3 separate regions of the Homo sapiens genome follow, and regions 1 and 3 are each linked to region 2. Evidence: promoter capture Hi-C in human tissues and cell types (Jung and others, 2019). All regions are on one chromosome and are shown on one strand. Each heading gives the region's core, a stretch centred on a gene start or on the middle of the fragment in contact. The rest is flanking DNA. Distances are from core to core; before and after follow the strand shown.

Evidence for each region. Contacts are between HindIII fragments. The study calls those that stand out against the background at their distance.
Region 1: a fragment that was not itself captured here is called in contact with the fragment with the promoter of SIGLEC1 in region 2 in 2 of the 25 tissues and cell types used here (H1 embryonic stem cells and thymus).
Region 3: a contact is called between a fragment that was not itself captured here and the fragment with the promoter of SIGLEC1 in region 2, in 3 of the 25 tissues and cell types used here (bladder, dorsolateral prefrontal cortex and mesenchymal stem cells).

The regions. Positions count from the first base shown.
Region 1 is chr20:3,616,052-3,619,606 of GRCh38, reverse strand. The region is part of intron 24 of ATRN (attractin); the gene reads right to left. Among named protein-coding and RNA genes, the nearest start is that of GFRA4, 46 kb to the left of the region's middle. The HindIII fragment of the contact is 5,534 bases long and covers 1-3,555 here.
Region 2 is chr20:3,710,103-3,713,976 of GRCh38, reverse strand. It overlaps SIGLEC1 (sialic acid binding Ig like lectin 1), which reads left to right and starts at 1,377. Exons shown (of 22, transcript NM_023068.4): 1 at 1,377-1,507. The HindIII fragment of the contact is 16,568 bases long and covers 1-3,874 here.
Region 3 is chr20:3,635,089-3,638,800 of GRCh38, reverse strand. The region is part of intron 26 of ATRN (attractin); the gene reads right to left. Among named protein-coding and RNA genes, the nearest start is that of GFRA4, 26 kb to the left of the region's middle. The HindIII fragment of the contact is 6,634 bases long and covers 1-3,712 here.

The sequences.
Region 1 (3,555 bases), core at 228-2,727, 94 kb after region 2:
TTTCCATTTTAAAAATGATTGTATTTTTGCATCTACTATGTGCCATCCACAAAGAAGGTACTCAAAAACTTGAATAAATGGATGAATGAATGAATACTGAATGACTAGGAAAAGTCACTGTTTAATACAGCAGATTTGAAAAGAGAGAAGAAAGGACCTTTCATTGGCCTCTGGCCTCATTCAGGACTTGCGTTCTGGTCGGAAGGATAAAACTGGCATTTCTAAGTCAATACCAGAGTTTCCTTTTCAGAAGGTAAGACACCGTGGTGCAGAACTAATTACACTTTATGTAGCACTCATCTAAGTCTACTGACCATATGCTGTGGAACCATGGACTGCAGAAAGGGCTGCATTATTTCTACCATGGAGATGTCTATCTATCCATTATCATGAGCACACAAGACAGGGAGAGGAAGAGAAAGGACAGCTGGCCACCCTGTGAGGTGAAGTCTTTCCGCTTCAAGGCAGCACCTGTCAGGCTCCGAGAAAACGCAAGGTATGTATGTACTGGGCAGAATCTCCGCAGGCTCCCAACGACCCCCTGGGACCAGCGGCCCCACCAAGGGTGAGAGCTCAGCCCAGAAGGAGCCCATGTGCTCCTCTATTCTCCTTGAGGCCTCTACTCTTCTTGGCTTTGCAAAGGATGGAAGATTCCGTGAGCCCTGGCTAAGTACATTCTAACCTGGGTCTTGTGCTGTCACCTCCTTGAGTTTGGCTGTGACATAAAACAACTCTTCCTTTTTTCTTAAAAAACGAAACAAAACCACCACCACCACCAAAGTTCATACATGGAACTCTATGTCAAGACCACAGCTCTGGACCAGATCCATATGACCATCACCCGGCCTCACACACCACGCACCTAATGCTGGTTTGTGCTGGCACAGAAACTGTATACCCAAGCTCTGGTCAGAGCCCCATGGCCAGTTAATGCCATTCAGCCACTCATTCCTGCCATGCAAACGAACACTCACCATCTGTCTGCTCCCAACCTCCCACCTCAATACTGCTCTGTGCTTTCTTTCCCTAATTTTCTCCTAGCAATTCCTTTTGACCATTCTCCAGAATTCCTATTCTATCACACTCATTAACAATTTAGAAATCATTAGAGAACTACATACTTAGCTGAAATATCAAAAGGTACTGAAAGGCTAGTCATGAAAAGCAATGTTCCCTGCTCTTCCTCTGCTCTTCTGAAGGCTTCTCTCCAGGGACCCCCACCTTGAACTAGGTTACTTTTCAGTTCTTCTGGCAGTTGCCTTTTTATCATTAATGTTTTTATTGTTATTTCCTGATCTATCCATTTTAGGCATCACTTTAACCAACCTCTTACTGAAACAGAAGGTGATTTTGGTCATCAGCCCCGCCCCTCCCTCCAGTATATATCACTGCTCTTAGTGCCTCTGTTAGTTCCTGTGCCATTATCCTGAGGGTGACAGTGATGGAAAGATGCCACCACAGATAGGAAGTGGACATGACTCTCTGGGATATGGGGAGACGATGTGCCTGTTACCCACACACAGCTACAAGATCAGAAGACAATGCAGCCATAGCCCACTGAAGGGCGGCTTCCCAGGCCCCACAGGGAGGAGCCCTCAGACCCTGATGCACCTGTGCGTCGGGGTGAAGGCAGGAGGCTTGCTGGGAAGCTCCGTTTTCCATTCTCACCAAGACAGGTGGGCTGGTTTGAGGGAGAGGGAGTTTTGCCCCTGACCCCTGAGTGTTCTAGAGACTGTCCACTGTTAACTGGTAAAACCCCCGTACAATGCTGTGTACTTCCTGTAAAGGCGAACAGAACTTCAGCTCCAGGGTGCACTATGCTCCAGGCCCGCCCAGCAGAGGCATGCTCCTGTAGCTGTCTGTAGGAGGCCAAATCATATACTCATACCTTTATTTCTTCTTCTACCACCTGTATTATTCTTTTCATTGTGTAATTTTTTTTCTTTTTTAGTAGGGATGGGGGTCTCACTATATTGCCCAGGCTGGTCTCGAACTCCTGGCTTCAAGTGATCCTTCCGTCTCAGGCTCTCAAAGTGCTGGGATTACAGACATGAGCTACCATGCTCAGCTTCTTTTTCATTTTGGAAAATCTTAAGCTTTTTAAAAAGTAGAAAGAGCACTATAATGAACCTCACACGCTCATCATCCTGCTTTAGTAAATTATCAGCTCAAGGCCAACCTTGTTTCATCCACACTACACTTACTTTCCCTATGATCATATTATTTTGAAGCATTCCCCAGACCCAATCATTTCCCTCTTAACTATTTCAATATTGACAGGAGCACTGAACTTTCTTCTTTGTAAAATTTGGATGTTTATGTCCTCAGCCCTCCCTTTTCTTCTATCTTCTAACTCTCTGGACAAAATTCTAACCAACAACAATCCAATCTTCTAACTCCACGCTGTGTAGACTGAGATAACAGATTCTTGGTTGCCAACCTCAGCCAGCCCATAGCACTGGTCAGCAATTGTTCTGACAATATCAGAAAAAGGTGTCGGCTCCTTTATAAAAGTTATAAAAGTTGTAAAAAAGAAAAAGTTCTGATACCTACCGTAAAGCCCTTATACTAACAACTATATACTCATCTGGCATACATTTAGGGAGTATCTCCAACTGATTAGCACATGACACTGAGGACACTGAGGGATAAAAATGCGATCCTTGCCATTAAGAAATCTTCGTATAGTGGAAACAGACACTCTGCTGTGGAGGTGCAGAGGAGGAAAGGAAGTTGCTATGGGATGTGTGTCATCAGATGGTCCCCTTCCCTGGGTTTCTACACAAGAATTCCACCTGGACTCCCTGGACTCCTGGACCTCCTAAGTCCTCCCAGGACTTAGGCCTGGCTCCTTCCAATCCACACTCCCAACTGCTGCCAGTGGGGTCTTTCTAAACACTGATCGTCGGTGACTTTTCGGCCTAAAACATCTCAACAATTCCCAGTCACATCAGGACTCAAGTTCACAGCCTGCAATCTCCAGTCTCTTCATAATGGCCCTCCCCAGCTCTCCACCTTCTTGCTCATAGCACTGTCACCAGCTCTGCTAAACTCCTGGTAGTTCCTGAAAGGGCTGGTCATTTCCTTTCCCCACCACGAACACCCCCTTCCCCCGCCCCCATGCTCCTTAGGAATCAGCTCTGGTGTGATCTCTCTTAACTTGGACTCAGGTGACACAGGGCACTCCCCTCCCCTCTCATGGCTCCCAGGAATGCATGGGCACACCTCCAACACCGAGCTTCTAACGAGGTGCCTGCTGTCCACTCACAGCTGCTGCTCTGGGCCAGAAAGTCTGCTGGCTGAATGAATTTTAAGGAAGTCTAGTGGGTTCCTGGCTCTGGAGATCACAGGAGAGAAGTCTGCTAGAGACAAAGATTTACCTGTCCAGCCAAAGGCAATGTTCCCAGATGGTGTGGATGAGATTGCCCAGGGAAAAAGAGTCCAGATGAAACCCAAGGGAACAATAGCATTAAAGAGCTGACAAGAGACAACCAAAGCGAAAGCTGAAAAGCAGGGGACTTTCGAGACAAAGGAATAACACATTTTTCTTTTTTT
Region 2 (3,874 bases), core at 128-2,627:
GCCAGGAGTGGTGGCTTACGCCTGTAGTTCCAGCACTTTGGGAGGTCGAGGTGGGAGAGTCACTTGAGCCCAGGTGTTTGAGACCAGCCTGGGAACATAGGGAGACTCCGTCTCTACAAAATAACTTAAAAAATTAGCCGTGCATAGTGGCAAGCGCCTGTAATCCCGGCTTCTTAGGAGGCTGAAGCAGGAGGATTGCTTAAGCCTAGAATTTCGAAGCTGCAGTGAGCCAAAGTGAGCCAAGATTGCACCAGGACACCCCAGCCTGGGCGACAGAGCAAGACACTGTCTCAAAAAACAAAAACAAACAAACAAACAAAAACCAAAAAAAGTCTTGTTGCTTGTATCTGGGATTGCTTGGAGCAATTAACATCTGCTTCACATGTCAAGTGCCTGCACAAACTAGGCCCTCAATAAGATGGGCTGCAGTAATGTAACAGTAACTAGCTGTGGTGGGGGCTTTCCTTTCCTGTCCCAAGGTGGGGGTGAAGGTATAGGATAGTGGCCGGGTGCAGCGGCTCACCTCTGTAATCCCAGAACTTTGGGAGGCCGAGGCAGGCAGATTACTTGGGGTCAGGAGTTCAAGACCAACCTGGACAACATGGTGAAACCCCGTCTCTACCAAAAATACAAAAATTAGCCGGATGTGGTGGTGCATGCCTGTAATCCCAGCTACTCGAGAGGCTGAGGCAAGATGATCACTTGAACTCGGGAGGTGGAGGTTGCCGTGAGCTGAGATTGTGCCACCGCACTCCAGCCTGGACGACAGAGTGAGACTCCATCTCAAAAGCAAAAACAAAACAAAAAGAAAAAAACCAACAACAAGAAGCCAAAAACCAAAAAACGTACAGGACAGTGAGAGGGGAAAGAGAAAACCTGAGGAGTGTCCTGGACATTGGGGCCTTATGTCCCCCACAACACGGGACTGCCTCTTGGGGGTTCTTAAGAGTACTCAGTGGTACAGGGAGGCTCCTGAATGGCTTGGAGAATAACTGCCTTGGTCTGGGCATCGTGTAGTGCATCCCCACCCCAGGCTGGGCGCGCCTCCCTCTCAGGTGTCAGGGAGGAGAGCTGTGTGCAGGAAGCCCCCTTCCACCTCCCCCAGCCTCCCTAAGGGGCTCAGAGAGAGTGGGGTGTGGATTTGGCTGGTGAATGGGAGTCCCCCACTCCATTTCTCACTTTGCCTGGGGAGGCTCCAGCGTTGCAGCGGTCCCACTTCTGCTTGCTGGAGTCCCTAAGTCCCTGGCCTTGCCGAGGGCCTTCCCCTATGGAGGTCTTTCCCGTTTTGGCATTGCGCAAGGCCTGCAGCTGCCTCCCTGACCAGCCTCTGGGTTGGACAGTAGAGCTGAGGCTTTGGGAAAGAGGAAGCAGCCCCTGATACGGGATCCTTCTCTCTTGAGCCGGCAGAGCCCTGGGGAGCCAGCTGCACCAGGAGCTCTTGGCCGTCCTTCCTGTTCTCCTCTCCGCAGGTCCAGCACCGCCGCAGCCACTTCCTTCTGTGGAGCAGGTACCCCTGTCCCTGGTCCCTGGGCCCAGAGGGTGAGTGGAGCATTAGGAGCGGGGCTGGGCTGAAACTGGCTGAGCGGGATAGGGGCAGGGGTCGGGGGGGGGCTCCATCTGGGTGCGAGTGGTGGACCCCAAACCAACCCAAGTCCAAGACACTAATCAAAGATGGACTCAACTGAAACCCTTCCACCACCCCCAAATCCTTCCAACCTGCATCCCAATCCCAGTCCCGACCATCACCCTGCTCTGACCCTACCTCAGCCCCAGCCCCAGCCCCTATTCCAACCTTATCTCACCCTCACCTCACTTGCACCCCAACCCTAACCATTTACTCATCTCATCTAATCCCAACCATCCATCATCCCAACCCTAACCACAACTCCGACTCTATCATCCTCATCTCAACCCAGCCTCCACCGTATCTTAACCATCACCTGCACCCAACTCCAACCTTCACCCTTACCCCCACCCATCACTCAACCTCAATGTCCACCCCAATCCCAGCCTTAATTTGCTTCCAGAATTCCAACCTGATCATCACCCTGACCTCAGCCCCAGCCCAGCCCAACGATAATCTCTCCTTACTCTAACCCCAGCACAATTCCACTTCATCCATCACCACTTCGTCCGTCCACAGGAGGGCTTCTGGTGCTGTCCAGCACAGTTTGGAGAGTGAGCACTCCAGCCAGAAGCATTTAGAGCCAGATTAAGGAATGAAGTGTGAAATTTCTACTGCCCATGTCAAAGCCAATAAGCATTAGTTATGGATTCTATGGCTCTGAGAATTAAACATTTGGCCTGTGATTGGGGATTTCCACTATTTTGACCATAATCTGCTCCAGGAATTGCCCATCCGTACCCTGACTCCCTATCTGTGGGCCAGTAACCTCCAGCTGGCCATGTCACCCTGTGTTCTTCCTTCTCTAGCCCAATGGGGAAGTTGGGGAGAAGCCTTGGTGTCAGGAAACAGAAACTGAATCCTACACCCGGGCCTAGCTGTCCATAGGGAAACTGCCTCTGCCCTTTCTTCCCCAGCTAAACTTGGCCTCTGGAATCAGAGGTCAGGGACTTGGGGCCCCAGCCAACCCTCCAAGACCTCCTGAGGCACTTGGTCTCAAACAGGCAGCAAACGTGAGTGCCCACTGTGTACCAGGCCAGCTCAAGCCACCCTGATGCAACACATACCAATAGTAGGAGTGGGGATTTAAAATCCTGTCTTCAGAGCACCCAAGACTTGGAGACCCAAGTATGAACCTCAGGAACCTCCTGTCTGGGGAACAATGATTTCCAAAAGAGTCACCCAAGGGAGGGATGGTTCAGGGCTGCAGAGCTGCCTGCTCCCTGTTGCTGGCACACCGCCCCCTTTCCCGGGACCCGCAATTCCCCCTCGACCACCAGGGGGCGCTGCGTGCTCACTAGGCCACAGCTGCAACCCAAGTTGCGGGGGGCGGGGGGCGGGGCACTGTCCCCTCAACTCCAGGCTTTCAAACAGGGACAGAGATCTCCTTTCTGAGCGGTCCCTGCTCTTTCTGTTTCCAGAACAGTTATCTGGGCTGAAGCTGGCCTTTGTGGTGACAGGCTGAGCCAATAGGCTGGATTCCGGTGGGGCTGACCCCTTTGGGGTTAGGGCCGGGCTAAGCATAGGTGGCCTCTACATTATGTGATGGGAGTGGTCCTGGAAAGGGTCCTCCCCCGCGCCCTGTTCCAGGGTCGCTGTGTCCAGAACCCCACCATTCTTCCATCAGGTTCACGATTGCCCTTTTCAGGACCCCAAATGGGAGGAACAGGGGAGCTGGGACAAGATAGCTGCCCTGGCCATAGCAGAGCTGACCCTGACATCCCCTGTGGCCAGGGACACATCTGACCCCCAGTGTGCCCAGCAGGCTGCTTTTCTTCACGGTGAGGTGTCCAGGTCCCAGGGCCCCAGCTATATCATTCTCCAGTGGCCAAGAACCTGGTGTGGAGGCTGGGGGTGCATCTTCCCAGAAGAGGAGGAGGCCTAGGGCTTCCTAGAGAACTGGAGATGAGCCCTTGGGCCTCCATAAATGGCCAGATCAGTCCACTCCAGCAGCCTGCGAGAGGGCTGGGTCCCCTGGGGAGCGGTGTCCTTCCTGTCCCAATCCCGCCCTGTACTGTGCCCCCTGCTGGGGCACCTTCTGCCTTCTGCAGCAGGCTAAGTCCCACCTGGTCAGCCTGACTGGCCCTGGGCCTCGGCTCACCCCCTTCCCAGGTGTGACCCCTGGTAGTCATTGGAATCTGCTGAGCCCAGCCCCTGAGGCGGATGGGCTGGGAGCTGGGAGGTCATGAGTTTCCTGTCCCCACTTCCAGCCTCCTCGTTCACTTGGCCAAGTCAGCATTTAGGACCAGG
Region 3 (3,712 bases), core at 230-2,729, 75 kb after region 2:
ATGGAATGAGTACTGAAGGGGTTTTATTAGTTAATGCTACATGTTAAAAACACCTCATCCTCCCTGATTCAAACAAATCAAGTCCAAAATGATACTTTTTAGACTTGATATTAGATAACATTAGGGATTACTAAATTTTGTTGGATGTGATAACACCATTGTCCTTATATTTTTTAAAAGCCCCTGTCAGAGATACATATTAACGTACGATGTTTATTGCAGCACTATTTACAGTAGCGAAGACTTAGAACCAACCCAAATGCCCATCAATGATAGACTGGATAAAGAAAACATGGCACATATACACCATGGAATACTATGCGGCCATAAAATAAATGAGTTCATATCCTTTGCAGGGACACGGATGAAGCTGGAAGCCATCAGTCTCAGCAAACCAACACAGGAACAGAAAACCAAATACTCCATGTCCTCACTCTTAAGTGGGAGTTGAACCATGAGAACACATGGACACAGGGAAGGGAACATCACACACTGGGGCCTGTCAGGGGTGGGGAGCAAGGGGAGGGAGAGCATTAGGACAAATACCAAATGCATGCAGGGCTTAAAACCTAGATAACAGGCTGATAGGTGCGGCAAACCACCACGGCACATGTATACCTATGTAACAAATCTACATGTTCTGTACATGTATCCCAGAACTTAAAGTAAAATAAGAAAATAAAGATAAAAATAAAAGTACTGTGGATTTAATGCTATGACGTCGACTTGTCAAATACATAAAATGGTGTGGCTCTATCTCCTCGTATTTCTACTACTAAAGTCAGGCTTGCTTTCTTCCTACTGAAACTGGCACCAAGGATTCACAGGACAACAAAAACCTATGCCTCATTATACGGCAGATAGGAACTGAAAGAACCCTTCCTTCAGAGAGGTGGTATAAGCTAAAAACAAACAAATGTGAAATTTTGCAGAGTAGAGGGACAAACAGGGGCTCGGGATTTAGGGAGGCTTGATGTGAACTCCTGCTCCAATAGTCTACAGCTGTGTGACCTTAAGAAAGGTGTTTGAAGTCTCTGGGCATCCGTGTCCTCCCTCTGAAATGTGTTCCTAGCCCATAAGGTTGTCACTGGGATCAAATGAGATACTACAGCACAGCGCCTAGCACATGGTGAACGGCCGTTCACATATCATTAAGGATATTAGAGATCTTTCTGGGCATGATGCTGAAGCTTTGAGGTTATGCCTTGGGATACAAGTAGGCCTTACTTCAAACTGCCTCCTTGGAACTACTGTAGAAGACAGAATCTTGGCCTGGATAGATATGGCTCTGTTCTAGAAGGGCATTTTTATAAATATTTTCTTAAAATACCAACATTCTTACATTTTTTAAAGCTGTAGGTCCATTTACTCGACTAATATATGCAGCAATGCTCCTTGGGGTCTGTGCTTAAGTGCTGGGGTCACAATAAGACAGGGTTCAGGAGGCAACATGTGTAAAAGCACTTAAAACCGGGGCTGGTGTGTAGCAAGGACTAAACAGCGTCAGCCGCTACTACTATTGTTTTTAAAAATAACATCAAATCATTGCTTCTACAATTCTGAGAGGGAATAAATAATGGCTGACATTTTAAAAATGATGAAATATATTCTGAATGGTCAGCTTCACAGTTACAGAGAAATTCCAAATCACACGGGTAAAAGCATAGTTTATTAGATGACCAACTCCATACTAAACACATATATATATTTTAATCTTTTTCCTGTAGGCTGTGCATCTTACTTTCTCTCATGCACACTGCAAACAATTTCCAGTTGATTGTTTAGCTTCTGTGTTATTCATTTATTTTTTGATATACTTAAGCCTTCATTTTTATGCAGGCAAATCTCTACTACATTGTTTTAATAACTTTATATGAAAATAATAATTTTGTTTCCTTTCCAATAGTAACAACACTTCTTAGTGCCCTTTCACTTAGTGCACAGTCTAGAACATCTAGCACAAAGCTGAATGACTGTAGGATTACACGAAGATAACGAACTTGGGCTGTGAAGACAGAAGTCCCTAGTTAAAGCCTCGTCTGCCTCTTAGTTAACTATGTGGTGTAAGTCACTTCACCTTTCTGAGCCTCAGTCCCCTCATCCATAAAACATAACGAGGGACAATACCTATTTCATAGGTTTGAGATAAGGATTAGTTAATCTACGTAAAACCACTTAGAACTCAGTGCCTGGAATTTTTAAATGCTCAGATGTCAGCTCTTGTTAAAACTAACTAGCCTGGATACAACCTCTGGTGTTTGTTTGTTTTATCATGAGTGATGCTGGTTATCCAGATATTCTTCATAGCGTTAAAAAGGTATTTTTGATTTTACTGTGAGTTTTGTTTTCAAATTAGGAATGGATATTGAGTTTCAATAAATGACGAAATGATTTCTGGGCCACTAGGAAGAATTCAGGTGTTATTTTTTCCCCATTGACATGATATATTCTTTTTTTGACATGATATATTCTAATAGGTTTTCTGGTATTAAGTGACTCTTTCATTACACTGCAATTAGACTGCTGCACATACATTCACTATGCAGCTGCCCTTTGTATTTTGGTGCTACCTTTGTCAGGTTTTGGTACCAAGATTTCTGTGTATAAAATCAATTCGGACTCTTTCAAGCTTTCCATCTGTTCCTTTGCTTTACAGATTTTAGAAACAATTAATTCTCATAAGCACTCAGGGAGGAACAGGCTATCATAATCTCCATAAGCTCATCTCAACCTTGAAACTCCCTGGGTCTAATGTCCTTCTTGGAGAGAGTAGCACTCAAAAGTTTTCAACTCCTTTCTTGATAACTGGTTTACTGTGGCTTCTTACTTCTTTCTTACTCCATTGTGAATAAATATACATTTAAATTAAATTGAAAATATAATTTTTTTCAGAACATCACGTAATTCATTAGGCTTTTAAAGTATATCAGTAATACAGTTATCTAAAAAACCCTTTGAATATGTTATCCACTTATTTAAAAAATAATAATAAAGAGTGTGCAACATTCCCTCTATGATAACATCATCTTTATGTGGGTCAGAAAAGGTGGTACTGTGGCCCACAACAAGAGGCCCATATCCTGGAGCCTGTCTTAACCCTATTCAGACATGAATATCCTATCAACAGTGCTGAGTGCTTGTGAGTTGTGATTTTACATACTTCCCTTCTGTTCTAAATCTTATCTATAAATACATTTTTATATAGAAAAAGGCATGAGTAGATCCAAAAAAACCCCAGACAGCTTCTTTGTCTAGATCTTATATACACGTGAGCATTTCCATTAGCAACAATGCCAACAATGCCACAGGCATGACTAAATGAAAGGCAAAGTAATGATGCAAGTGAAAGTTGCAATACACAAAGTTTTTATGTTGTAATTATTTTAATGGTGGTTATTTTTAAAATATTTATTTATTTATTTATTTATTTATTTATTATTTCAATAGGTTTTTGGGGGAACAGGTGGTGTTTGGTTACATGAATAAGTTCTTTCATGGTGATTTCTGAGATTCTGGTGCACCTATCACCCGAGCAGTGTACACTGTACCCGATGTATAGTATTTTATCCCTCATCCCCCTCCCACTCTTTCCCCCGAGTCCTCAAAATCCACTGTATCATTCTTATGCCTTTGCATCCTCAGGGCTTAGTTCCCACTTGTAAGTGAGAATATATGAAGTGTGGTTTTCCATTCCTGAATTATTTCACTTAGA